Regions from separate parts of the Homo sapiens genome. Here region 1 is linked to region 2. Evidence: promoter capture Hi-C in human tissues and cell types (Jung and others, 2019). All regions are on one chromosome and are shown on one strand. Each heading gives the region's core, a stretch centred on a gene start or on the middle of the fragment in contact. The rest is flanking DNA. Distances are from core to core; before and after follow the strand shown. Region 1 overlaps PLA2G4A (phospholipase A2 group IVA). Region 2 holds the start of PDC (phosducin).

Region 1 (5,945 bases), core at 3,142-5,641, 450 kb after region 2:
AATACTACATAATAGTAAAAGTGTTTGAATTACTTTTATTTATATAAGCACAGATGATTCTCAAAAAAAAGTGTTCACTGGAAAAAATAATTTGCACTAATTACTAAAAACCTGCAAAATGAAAACCTTATTTAGGGACATAAATATATATTGTAAAATTATAAACATATATGGAATGATGAAGATTAAATTTAAGTAGTGATTACCTTTAAGGAACAGAAAAGGAAATAAAGTTGAGGAGGTGTCATAGAGGCAACTGTACAGGTAAGATTTTAATTTCTTTTCTTTTCTTTTTTTTTTTTTTTTTTTTTTTGAGACGGAGTCTTGCCCTGTCACCCAGGCTGGAGTGCAGTGGCGCGATCTCGGCTCACTGCAAGCTCTGCCTCCCAGGTTCACGCCATTCTCCTGCCTCAGCCTCCCGAGTAGCTGGGACTACAGGCGCCAGCCACCACGCCCGGCTAATTTTTTTCTATTTTTAGTAGAGACGGGGTTTCACCGTGTTAGCTAGGATGGTCTCGATTTCCTGACCTCGTGATCCGCCTGCCTCGGCCTCCCAAAGTGCTGGGATTACAGGCATGAGCCACCGCGCCCGGCCTTTAATTTCTTATAGTGTTTAGAAGATACCTAACCTAATATGTCATTATAAAGAATAGTAATAGAAAAGAGTGTAGCCCAAGATTAGACTTAAAAGTGTTCATTTGGCTGGGCGTGGTGGCTCATGCCTGTAATCCCAGCACTTTGGGAGGCTGAAGTGGGTTGATTACCCGAGGTCAGGAGTTCCAGACCAGGTTGACCAACATGGAGAAACCCTGTCTCTACTAAAAATACAAAATTAGCCAGGTGTATTGGTGCGTGCCTGTAATCCCAGCTACTTGGGAGGCCGAGGCAGGAGAATCGCTGGAACCCAGGAGGCGGAGGTTGTGGTGAGCTGAGATTGTGCCATTGCACTCCAGCCTGGGCAACAGGAGCGAAACTCCGTCTCAAAAAAAAAAAAAAAAAAAAAGTTAACTCACTGTCTTACTCTTTTCCCCCGTTACATGATTTCCAAAATCATATTTAATAATTGTATAACCCAATACTTTTATATACAGTTCAACAACCGTTTCTTTAAATGATCTTTAAAAAGTTTTTGGTTACTTCCCTTAAGATAGGTTTCCAGAAGTAGAATTATTAGGCCAAAAGGAATCTATGTTCTAATTATTTTTGAACATTCCATATTGCTAATATGCCAAATTTGAATACTGCTTAATTGCTTTTTAACAAACTTATATTCCCAAAATGGATGCATGAGAATATTAGTGTTATTTTTCCTTTCTAGGACTAGAAAATAAGTATTTAAAATATTTTAATATCAATTATTTTAATAACAGTATCATTTAAATTCACTAGTGAAATTAAACTTTTTTGTTATTAATTCTGCTTTCTCTTTTGTGAGGTACCTATATTTGTCCTTTGGGAAGTAGTAATTAAACTATTATTTGTAATGGTCAAATATAGCCATAAAGAACATAGCTCAGAGGCTTGGTCTCTTTCTGTATTTTACAAGGAAAAAATATACTGAACTAACAGAAATGAGATTTAAAATTGATTTACAATTAAGGTAAGGATTTTTATGAATGGTAAAGAGACAAATATTTTATTGGTGATAATTCTTGACTTCTGCTTTTTGGATTTATTCACACTCCAACATAGGCTGACAGATTTTTAAAAAGTATTTTTAAATTCAGTAGTTGGTATTTAGACTTCAGTATTAAGATATGTCTTATATGTTGCATGGTGAAAGTACATCACATGTTTACTCTGTGATCCTAACCTCTCAGGGCATTAGTTTTCTAATTTATAAAGCTGCAATATATAATAATATATTGTATAATAATATGTAGTGATACTCCCATCGTTCTTGCAATGATTCATACGTAATACCTAATGTGACTTCTGGCATAGTGTAGAGAAATTGCTACTGCCTTCATTAGCAAGATAAAGTATATATAATTTAAGGGTTCTAAAGTCCTCTAGTGGTAAACTCATTTATGGTTATCTCAAGTTCTGTGATTAGAAGTTCCTTTCTTTGTTAGAGGGGGGCATCCATTAGACAAGGCAATTAATTAAGACAATATTTCTGCAAGTATGTTCCTCAGAATGCTGGCTCTTTGGGATGTTAGAAAGTAATTATGATGGTGGAATAGTGAAGGGTGGAGAGATAAGGGAAGGAATTCTTGGTCAAGTAAGTTTGGGATATCCTGTGCCAAACAAATATAAACAGGGTTCTTTACTGAAGCCCTTCCAAGTCTTTGTTATAATATTCAACTTATCAGAGGCTGTTTGTTTGCTCGTTTATTTTATCTAAAGCATTGGAAAGTCCTTTTTCTCTGAAAACATGCTGTGGAAAATGCTGCTTTAAGATAGCCATCATTTTATCCTCTTATTTTAGGTCCCTTCTTAGGAAATGGCTTGAGGGAAGCAGTCAGCATATATCAGTGTAGCTCCTAGGGACCTGGAAAAGCTACCTGGATGGAAAACCAGACCACTGGGAGCACTGGCTCATGACTTTATCTGTTTGGTATTACAGCTCATGCCCAGACCTACGATTTAGTATGGCTCTGTGTGATCAGGAGAAGACTTTCAGACAACAGAGAAAAGAACACATAAGGGAGAGCATGAAGAAACTCTTGGGTCCAAAGAATAGTGAAGGATTGCATTCTGCACGTGATGTGAGTTGGAAATTTTTCAAGTGTTACTATACTTTAATAATAATTTAGCTTGGACAATTTCCCCAATAATTTTACCCAAATATGGCAATATTGAGATTGAGCATTATTCCTTTAGTTTTTTAAGGTAAGGTAAGTGATTTGTAAATGAAAACTCTTTGAGGAAGGTCATCACAAATGGTGCCCTAGCTGGTAATATTTATCAGCTATAGTTTTTAGTTTTATTTTTACTTTATATTTTAGAGCAGTGTTAAGTTCACAATAAAATTGAGCCAAAAGCACAGAGAGTTCCAATATGCTTCTTCTCCCTGCACAACCTCCCAAGTTTAGTCAGGTTCTCCAGAGAAACAGAACCAAAAGATATACACAGTAGATATGAGGAGATTTATTATGAAGTTTGGCTCACATGATTATGGAGGCCAAGCAGTCCCACGATATGCTTTCTGCAAGCTGAAGAACCAGGAAAGCCCGTGGTGCAATTTAGTCCAAGACAAAGGTGCACCAGTGGAGTAACTCCCAGTCAGAGGCTGGGCAGTTGGAGGGGGAGGTGGGAGTCTTGAAGTCTGAAAGTAGGAGAACCCGGAGCAACAATGTCTAAAGGCAGGAGAAAAGGGATGTCTCAGTTCAAGGACAGAGAGACAATTGCCCACCTTCCACCTTTCTGTTCTCCTCAGGCCCTCCAAGGATGGAATGATGTGCGCACCCATTGGCAAGGGTGGGTCTTTACTCAGTGTGCTGATTCACTTGTTTTTCTTTGGAAAACACCCTCATTAGCACCCCCAGAAAGAATGTTTTTCTAGTGATCTGAGTATCCTTTAGTCTGGTCAGGCTAATAAAGAAAATTAACCATTATACTCCCTAACTATCAACATCCCACACCAGAGTGGTACATTTGTTACAATCAGTGAACCCACATTGACACATCATTATCATCCAAGTCCATAGTTTACGCTAGGCTCACTGTTGGTGGTCTACATTTTATGGGGTTTGGACAAATGTGTAATGACATGCATCCACCATTATAGTATCATACACAGTAGTTCACTGTCCTAGAAATCCTCTGTGCTCCACCTATCATCTCTCCTCCCTACCCCTGCACCACTGATACTTTTACTGTCTCCATAGCTTTGCCTTTTGTTAGTTTGCCTAATGTAGTATAGTTGGAATCATACAGTATGTAGCCTTTCCAGATAGGCTTCTTTCACTTAGTAATACGAATATAAGTTTCCTCCATGTCTTTTCATGGTTTGGATAGCACATTTCATTTTAGTACTAAATAATATTCCATTGTCTGGATGTACCACATTTTATTTACTTATTCATATATATGTATATTTATATATACATATATATACATATATATGTATATATATACATAAGTATATATATATGTATACTTATATATATATGTATATATATATATACATATATATGTATCTAATATAAGTGTATGTATGTATTTGTATATAATATATATATAAGGCATACTTACGCATAAAGGAGTGTTGATTTTATCAATAGGAAAAGTTTAGCCTCAAATATAAAAGGATTAAAATTACTTAATTTAAATGTAGGCTAAAATTAAACTGTGGAAATCATCATTATCGAACAAGAAGAAAATGCCATAAATCTTGTTAATGATAATGGAATTAATAAATGCAGGCAAATGTGATGGGGAGAAAAAAGAAAATATTCCAAATTCTTTATATTTTGTAGTAGAGTTAAACAATATTTAAAATTGACCAAATTGAAGGATCGTACTTTCAATATTTGTTTATAATATATTTGTATTCTATATTTCTCTATAATTAGGATTATAAAAATCATTAAGTTGAAGAAATGATTTATAATCCTAATTATGGAGAAATACTGGAATATAAATATAAACAAATATTGAAAGTAAAATCCTTCAATTATAGTTTTTTTCTTTCCTTAAATTCCAGTAAAATGTAATATCCTTTATTACTCAATCATATATCTTAAAATCTACTTTTTGGCTATCTATCCATTCATTTATTTCATCTATGTATCCATCAATCACCTATCTAATCTGCTTATCTATTTCTCTCTTTATATATCTGTCCATCTTTCTATCTGAAATCTACAAAGATTAATTGCCACAATGATGCTCATCAAATGATAATGAAGTTTCTTGTTAGTGACGTATCAGGTAATTATTTACTTATTTATTTAGTTGAGCTTTCTTGTTAATTGAATATGTCAAATGAATATAATTTATTTTCATAAAAATAATATTTTAAATACATAAGTAAACATATATGTGCATAGTCTTGTACACTCTTGAATTATTTCTCGTAGGAATTAATTTCATTAAGTTTTTCATAAAATAATTTCATAAATAAATTAATTTCTTGGAATTCATTCTTGTAGGAATTTGAGATTATTGCAAATTAAGGGCAGGATACAGTTGGAAATGAGACATAAATTCTGAGTAAGGGAGCCAAATGATCACCCCTGTCCCACATGTGGTTGCAGATTTGCAAATATGTTTTAGGTGGGGGTAGGGTTCAAAAGCCAACCTACTGATGCTATAGTGACTTGTGTTGTTATGGGAGCAGACTCTAAGATGAGATGCTGCTTAAGGGGAATTTTTGCTTAAAGGAAACTAAGGAAACCTTCATTAAAGTTTATTTTAAAAAGAGAGGCTTCTCTTCAATCCTGCATCTTTTGTTTTGTTTTGTTTTTTTGTGTTTTTTTTTTGAGACAGGGTTTTGCTTTGTTGCCCAGGCAGGAGTGCAGTAGCACAATCATAGCTCACTGCATCATCAAACTCCTGGGCTTAAGTGATCCTCTTGCCTCAGTCTCCTAAGTAGCCAGGACTATGCGTGCATGCCACTACACCCAGAAAATTTATATATATATGTTTTTTTCTTTCTAGAGATGGGGATCTTGCTATATTGCCCAGGTTGGTCTCAAACTCCTGAGCTCAAGCAACACTTCCACCTCTGCCTGCCAAAGTGCTAGTGTAGCAGGACAAGCCACAGACAAAAACCCCTCAGACACCGAGTTAAAGAAGGAAGGGGTTTGTTTGGCCGGGAGCATCGGCAAGACTCCTGTCTCAAGAGCCGAGCTCCCTGAGTGAGTAATTCCTATCCCTTTTAAGGGCTCACAACTCTAAGGGGGTCAGCTTGAGAGGGTCGTGATCATTTGAGCAAGCAGGGGGTACATGACTGGGGGCTGCATGCACCAGTAATTAGAACAGAACAGAATAGGACA
Region 2 (5,432 bases), core at 800-3,299:
CGCAGGAGAATCGCTTGAACCTGGGAGGCGCAGGTTGCAGTGAGCCGACATCTCGCCACTGCACTCCAGCCTGGGGGACAGAATGAGACTCCAACTCAAAAAAAGAAAAAAAGAAAAAGAAAGCCTGGGGATATTTACCAGGACCCTTCCTCCTTTTCAGGCCCTAGATTCTAAGATCCTGCTTTGCAGATCTGAAGTGGGACCCAGGAATCTTTAACAAGCTCTAAGCCTGCCGAGTGCCTGCGATTGCAGGCACGCGCCGCCACGCCTGACTGGTTTTGGTGGAGACGGGGTTTCGCTGTGTTGGCCGGGTCTCCAGCCCCTAACCGCGAGTGATCCGCCAGCCTTGGCCTCCCGAGGTGCCGGGATTGCAGACATACAGATATTCTTTTACTTGTTCTGGAGAAAATAGAATTTTAGAAATTCATAACAGCCATCTTTTTTAAAGTATCTGTTTATCTTGTAAATATACATATTCCTGTACATATTGTTTGAATTCCATTACAGACATTATTATGAATGGTTCATATATATTTTGATAATGACTTATATAATATCAAATCCACTTATAAACATAGTATTTGGGCAGAAATTGTCATGATGAATTAGATGATCTCTAAAGTTTTTTCTAGCTTTAATATGAGGTGATTCTAAGTAGCAGGTACAATGGACAATATGTGTGTGTGTGTATATATATATATATATATATATATATATTTAAAATGGACTCTATAGTTAGAAGCTATTTTTGCAGTTAATAAAAATACTCCATTGCAAATCAATTACTGCACTCATTTTCATGATGCAAACTGTAAGGTTTATTAGTAATAATAATAACCTCCATGGAAACAAAATAGAAAAAAAAAAACCAATTGAAAGAAAATTTTCACTGAATTTAAGAAATATCAACAAACTCTGTGTTCTTTTCTTTTAAAAACATTATTTCTGTTTCATTAAATTTCTAAAGTAACCTTTCAAAACAAACATTATTTCTACTTTAAAAATTAAAAACCACCAACAAACCACCGCCACAACAACATACTACTAAGGAAAAGCCTCAAAACATGCCTTAGCGCCGGATGAATACAGCAGTCCTCACTTATCTGAGGTTTTTCTTTCTGTGATTACAGTTACCCTTGGTCAACCTTGGTCCAAAAATATTAGATGAAAAATTCCAGAGATAAACAATTTGCAAGTTTTAGATTTGCAGTGTACTGAGTAGCTTGATGAAATCTCACACTATCCTGCTCTCTCTGGCCTGGAACATGAAACATCTCTTTGTATACCATATCCACACCATATGCATTACTGTCTTGGTTATCAGATTGACTATTGCAGTGCTTGTGTTCAAGTAACCCTTATTTACTTAATAAGGTCCCAAAGCGCAAGTGTTGTGATGGTAGCATATTGTTATAAAGGTTCTATTTTATTATTAGTGATTATGGTTAACCTCTGACTGTGTCTAATTTATAAATTAAACTTTATCACAGGTATGTATGTTCAGGAAAACAACATAGTATACACACAAGGTTCAGTTTTATCTATGGTTTTAGGCATCCAGTGGGGGTCCTGGAACATATCCCCCTTGGATAAGGGGCAACTACCGCACTCCTTTTCCAACTTGGGAGCCAGATCTTCAAACATAAAGTGCAAGGACTCATCATTTATTCTCTTTAGTTCTCCCTTCACTCAAAGGAAATTTAAAATTGCAAAATGAGTTCTCCATTCATGGTCTTATTTTAACAGTCTAGAATATCAGGCTCAAAATTGCGTGTTTACTCTGAATCTGTATTAGTGAAGATGACTGGTGGAAATCACTGAAAGAGAGAAGGATACGCTGTATTTAATTGTCTTTATAGTAGATAATTCAAAACCTTATGTACTTTGAACTATTTTACATTAACACAATAATACATAAACAGTGAATCACCATTCTTTCCCCTAAGGTAAAATTTTTAAAATTATATTATCAAAAGGACTACTTGTGGACTCACAGTTTGGATCTCTGTGCCTGGTGTCCTTGTTGAGTGGGTGAGAATCCCTGTCTACTGAACTCGTCTTGAACTTCAATAGGTTTAAGCTCAGATTTAAAATCTCCAGATATTGATGACCCTTGCAGAAATAGCTCTGAACAAGTAATAGGATTGACAGAATTAGCAAGGCCAGTTCATTAATAATAAGGCAAAACCAAACAAAGAGTAGTCAGTTTATATTTTACAGAACACATTGAATAGATGAGAGACAGAGGTCATTATTAGTACTATTTATCGCAATAACATGAGTTGTATTCATTAGTCCCATAATCATCTACTGAGCACCTACTTTGTGTGAAACAAGCAGTAGCTAGGCACTAGGGTACAAAGACAAATAAACCCTATTTCCTATATCGTGAGGCTTGCAGTCTAGTGGGGGAGACAGGTAAGTAAAAAGATAATCACAATGAAGTGCTATGATTACTACAACATTGGGAGGAATAAGAGAGATACTATGATTTTCATCTTCTCTTACTACAGGCTTTTAATACAATTTTTTCAGATGGGCTGTCTTTACAGATCTACTTGCTTTCTGGATTCTAGTTTTATTGGCATTTTCTCCTTTTCACTTCTCCTTATTGTTTCTGGTTTTTACCATTAAAAATTCCTTTCCTGCTGTTTTTTAATGGAGTTTTGAGATGTAGGGGAAGTAGATGCATGTGTTTAATCTTCCATCTTTTCCTAACATCTTTCATCCTCACAGCCAAATTCTCATCTAACTTTGCCAAAGTAGGAGATTTAATTTACTCTAAGCTTAAAACTGGAAATTTTTAATTAGCAAGAGGACAAAATTTTTAATATTAATGGCAATTAAAATGAACACATTTAGATTTTTAAATTATAAGGTTTAGTCATATGTAGCTTCACCCAGAAACTTTAAGTGGATCTTAATGCAATTTAAACAGTGATAGTGTCTAAATAAATTTTAATAGTTATGTTTTATTATACTAAATTAATTTGTCATTTATTTACTCTTTGTTAGTAAGAGGGAAACCTGTCACATTTCAGAACTTTGTTTGCTTATATATTTTTTATTGTAGAATTTGATTTCAAGAATAGAGAAGAGTACATAAAATTTACAATATTTAAGAGAGTCACAACCATAAATATTTTCAAAGAGATTCTTCCAGAAATCAAAGTATTTTCTAAATTAACTTTCATTTTCATCCTTAAATCAAATTTTTACCTCCCATTTAGCAGGTTTCATGTTCCAGTTTGTGTGCTATACATATGCTTTTCAACAGAGTTTCTCAGGGCAATTCACTTTCAGTTTTTATGAACTGAGTGTTTTCTCTCTAGCTAAAGAATCTAGAATGTAGTCAGGTGCAATACAAATGTAACTTAAAAGATGCCTTCTGATGGCAAATGTGAAGAAATTTAATATTTCAGTTTGATGATAAAAAATGTCATAGTGGTTTTAACATTCAAAAAATATGTTTTAAGTTACTGTCAAATATAGCTTGGTACTCATATGTTCAAATATGTAATATAGGCACAAGCATAGAGACTTAACGGTAAAAAAAAAATTACTATAGCAATTCCTATCCTACCCCCACCTTCCCAACACAGATATTTCCATAATTTGCTTTTTATTTTGTGCTATCTCTGGCACCTGTTCACTGGAGGGATTTGGGGTCATTACGGACATCACACACTTGCCTACAATTTGGACAAGCATATCTGATCTAATTGCTTCAATTATGAATTGAGTAATTTTTGTAGATCATGAAAACTTGTCAAGAGTCAAAGCCCAAAAGGTCATTATTTCACACATATGATTCTTGATTGATGTAAAAACATTTAAAAGTATTAGAATTATATGTTGATATAGTGTTTAGATTTTTATATATGATTTTACATCCAATTTTAAGAATACTAAATACTTTACAAGGCACAAACATTATAAACCAGCTGAAAATAATCTTAGAAAACAGAAATAAAAATATTAATAATTAGGACACTTTCTGAGTGCTCATCATGCCAGGTCAGGTACTAATTGTTTACTTCGCATAATCTTTACAACAATCCCCTGAGGTAGGTCAAGTATAATTTTATAGATGAGGAGACAGGCTTGGATAAGTTTTATAACTTATCTAACTGATGCATTTATTCCCCAATATTAGTGGAATGCCTACTGTGTGAAAGCACTCTTCTGTGGACAAGGTACTTCTATATACAGCAGCAAGAAAACAGTTTTTATGTTTCAAATGTTGACATTATGTCCATGCAGACCCCAGCGTTCGAATTCAGGTATGACTTAATTCCATGGTCCACACTGTTAACCAGTAAAGTCTCCTGTTTAGGGCAGATTAAATTACCTGCTCTAAAAAGATGAAATTACAGAATTTTCTTTAAATCCTAAACAGCCTTCAGTGTAGATTCTTCTGGTTCCAAGGCTGTCATATATATCTACTTGCTCTTTTTTTTTTTCTTTTTGAGCGTGAGAAAGTTAATTGTAAGGACAGAATTGAAAGAAAACCATGAATTCCTTAGGAGTTCAAGGACAGCTATACACTCTAGTCCTAGGAGAATGGAATGTCAGCTCAAAATCTTGGAGGATACAATGCTGGAGTAAACACCTTAGCAGCTGGGAGGGGTCTGTTGATCTTCCCAGTAGGGCTCAAATACCAAGATTGCGGCTTTCCATCCCACTAACCGCATGCACTGCCTGCCCCCAACCCTGCTCCTCCCGCCGTGGCTGATCTTCTGTCACTAGTTAATACTCTTCCTAAGGCCTTCCATATCACCTTTACTTTACAGCCTGTGCTTCCTCAATATATATTTTCTTATTTGTTCTGTTTTCCATAACCCCCCTCATGGCCTTGACTCTACTCAAGACACCTATCTATAGAAGTTTTTTAAGCCTCCCATCTATTGATAACAGCTTGGCTATTTCCATGTTTCCAAATGAGTATTCTGGGAGAATATGATTTGTTTAGCCGAAACCATTTTGCTTCATTATGCCATTGGCATAATTTGGCCAAGGTCACACCCTTGGTCTAATCAGCTTTAGCCAGATGGCAAGGTTATGTGATCTACATAGGGCTCCCTTTCAGTAGGGGCTGGGGAACTTTTAGTAATAAAGGGTGTAAATGAAGCAGGCGCTGTGGCAGACATCGTTTTTACTAAAAATAAACCTTTCCTTACTTTGAACTTGAAAACATGTCCCTCAGTCTTCAAATAGCAGAATTAAATTTAGAGCTGGAAGGGCATGTTTGGAAACAAGACCATACTGCTGAAAAGACTTACCAGAATGAGATAGTCCTGTAATTTCTTCTGTTTAGGATTTTATTTCCCTTTTCCAATATGCGTTCTACTCTTTCTTGTCTGAATTTTATTCTTCTTGGTTGAGAAGAGGAAAGCAAGGTAAGAATTCCAGTTTCTCTTTCTCTTAGCAAT

What was found. The method cuts DNA at HindIII sites, captures the fragments that hold promoters and counts their contacts. A contact is called where the count stands out against the background at its distance.
Region 1: a fragment that was not itself captured here is called in contact with the fragment with the promoter of PDC in region 2 in 1 of the 25 tissues and cell types used here (dorsolateral prefrontal cortex).

Annotation. Positions count from the first base shown.
Region 1 is chr1:186,908,679-186,914,623 of GRCh38, forward strand. It overlaps PLA2G4A (phospholipase A2 group IVA), which reads left to right. Exons shown (of 18, transcript NM_024420.3): 7 at 2,570-2,711. Among named protein-coding and RNA genes, the nearest start is that of PLA2G4A, 83 kb to the left of the region's middle. The HindIII fragment of the contact is 6,671 bases long and covers 1,057-5,945 here.
Region 2 is chr1:186,459,065-186,464,496 of GRCh38, forward strand. It overlaps PDC (phosducin), which reads right to left and starts at 2,050. Exons shown (of 4, transcript NM_002597.5): 1 at 1,995-2,050. The region is part of intron 3 of PDC-AS1 (PDC antisense RNA 1); the gene reads left to right. The HindIII fragment of the contact is 6,595 bases long and covers 1-4,472 here.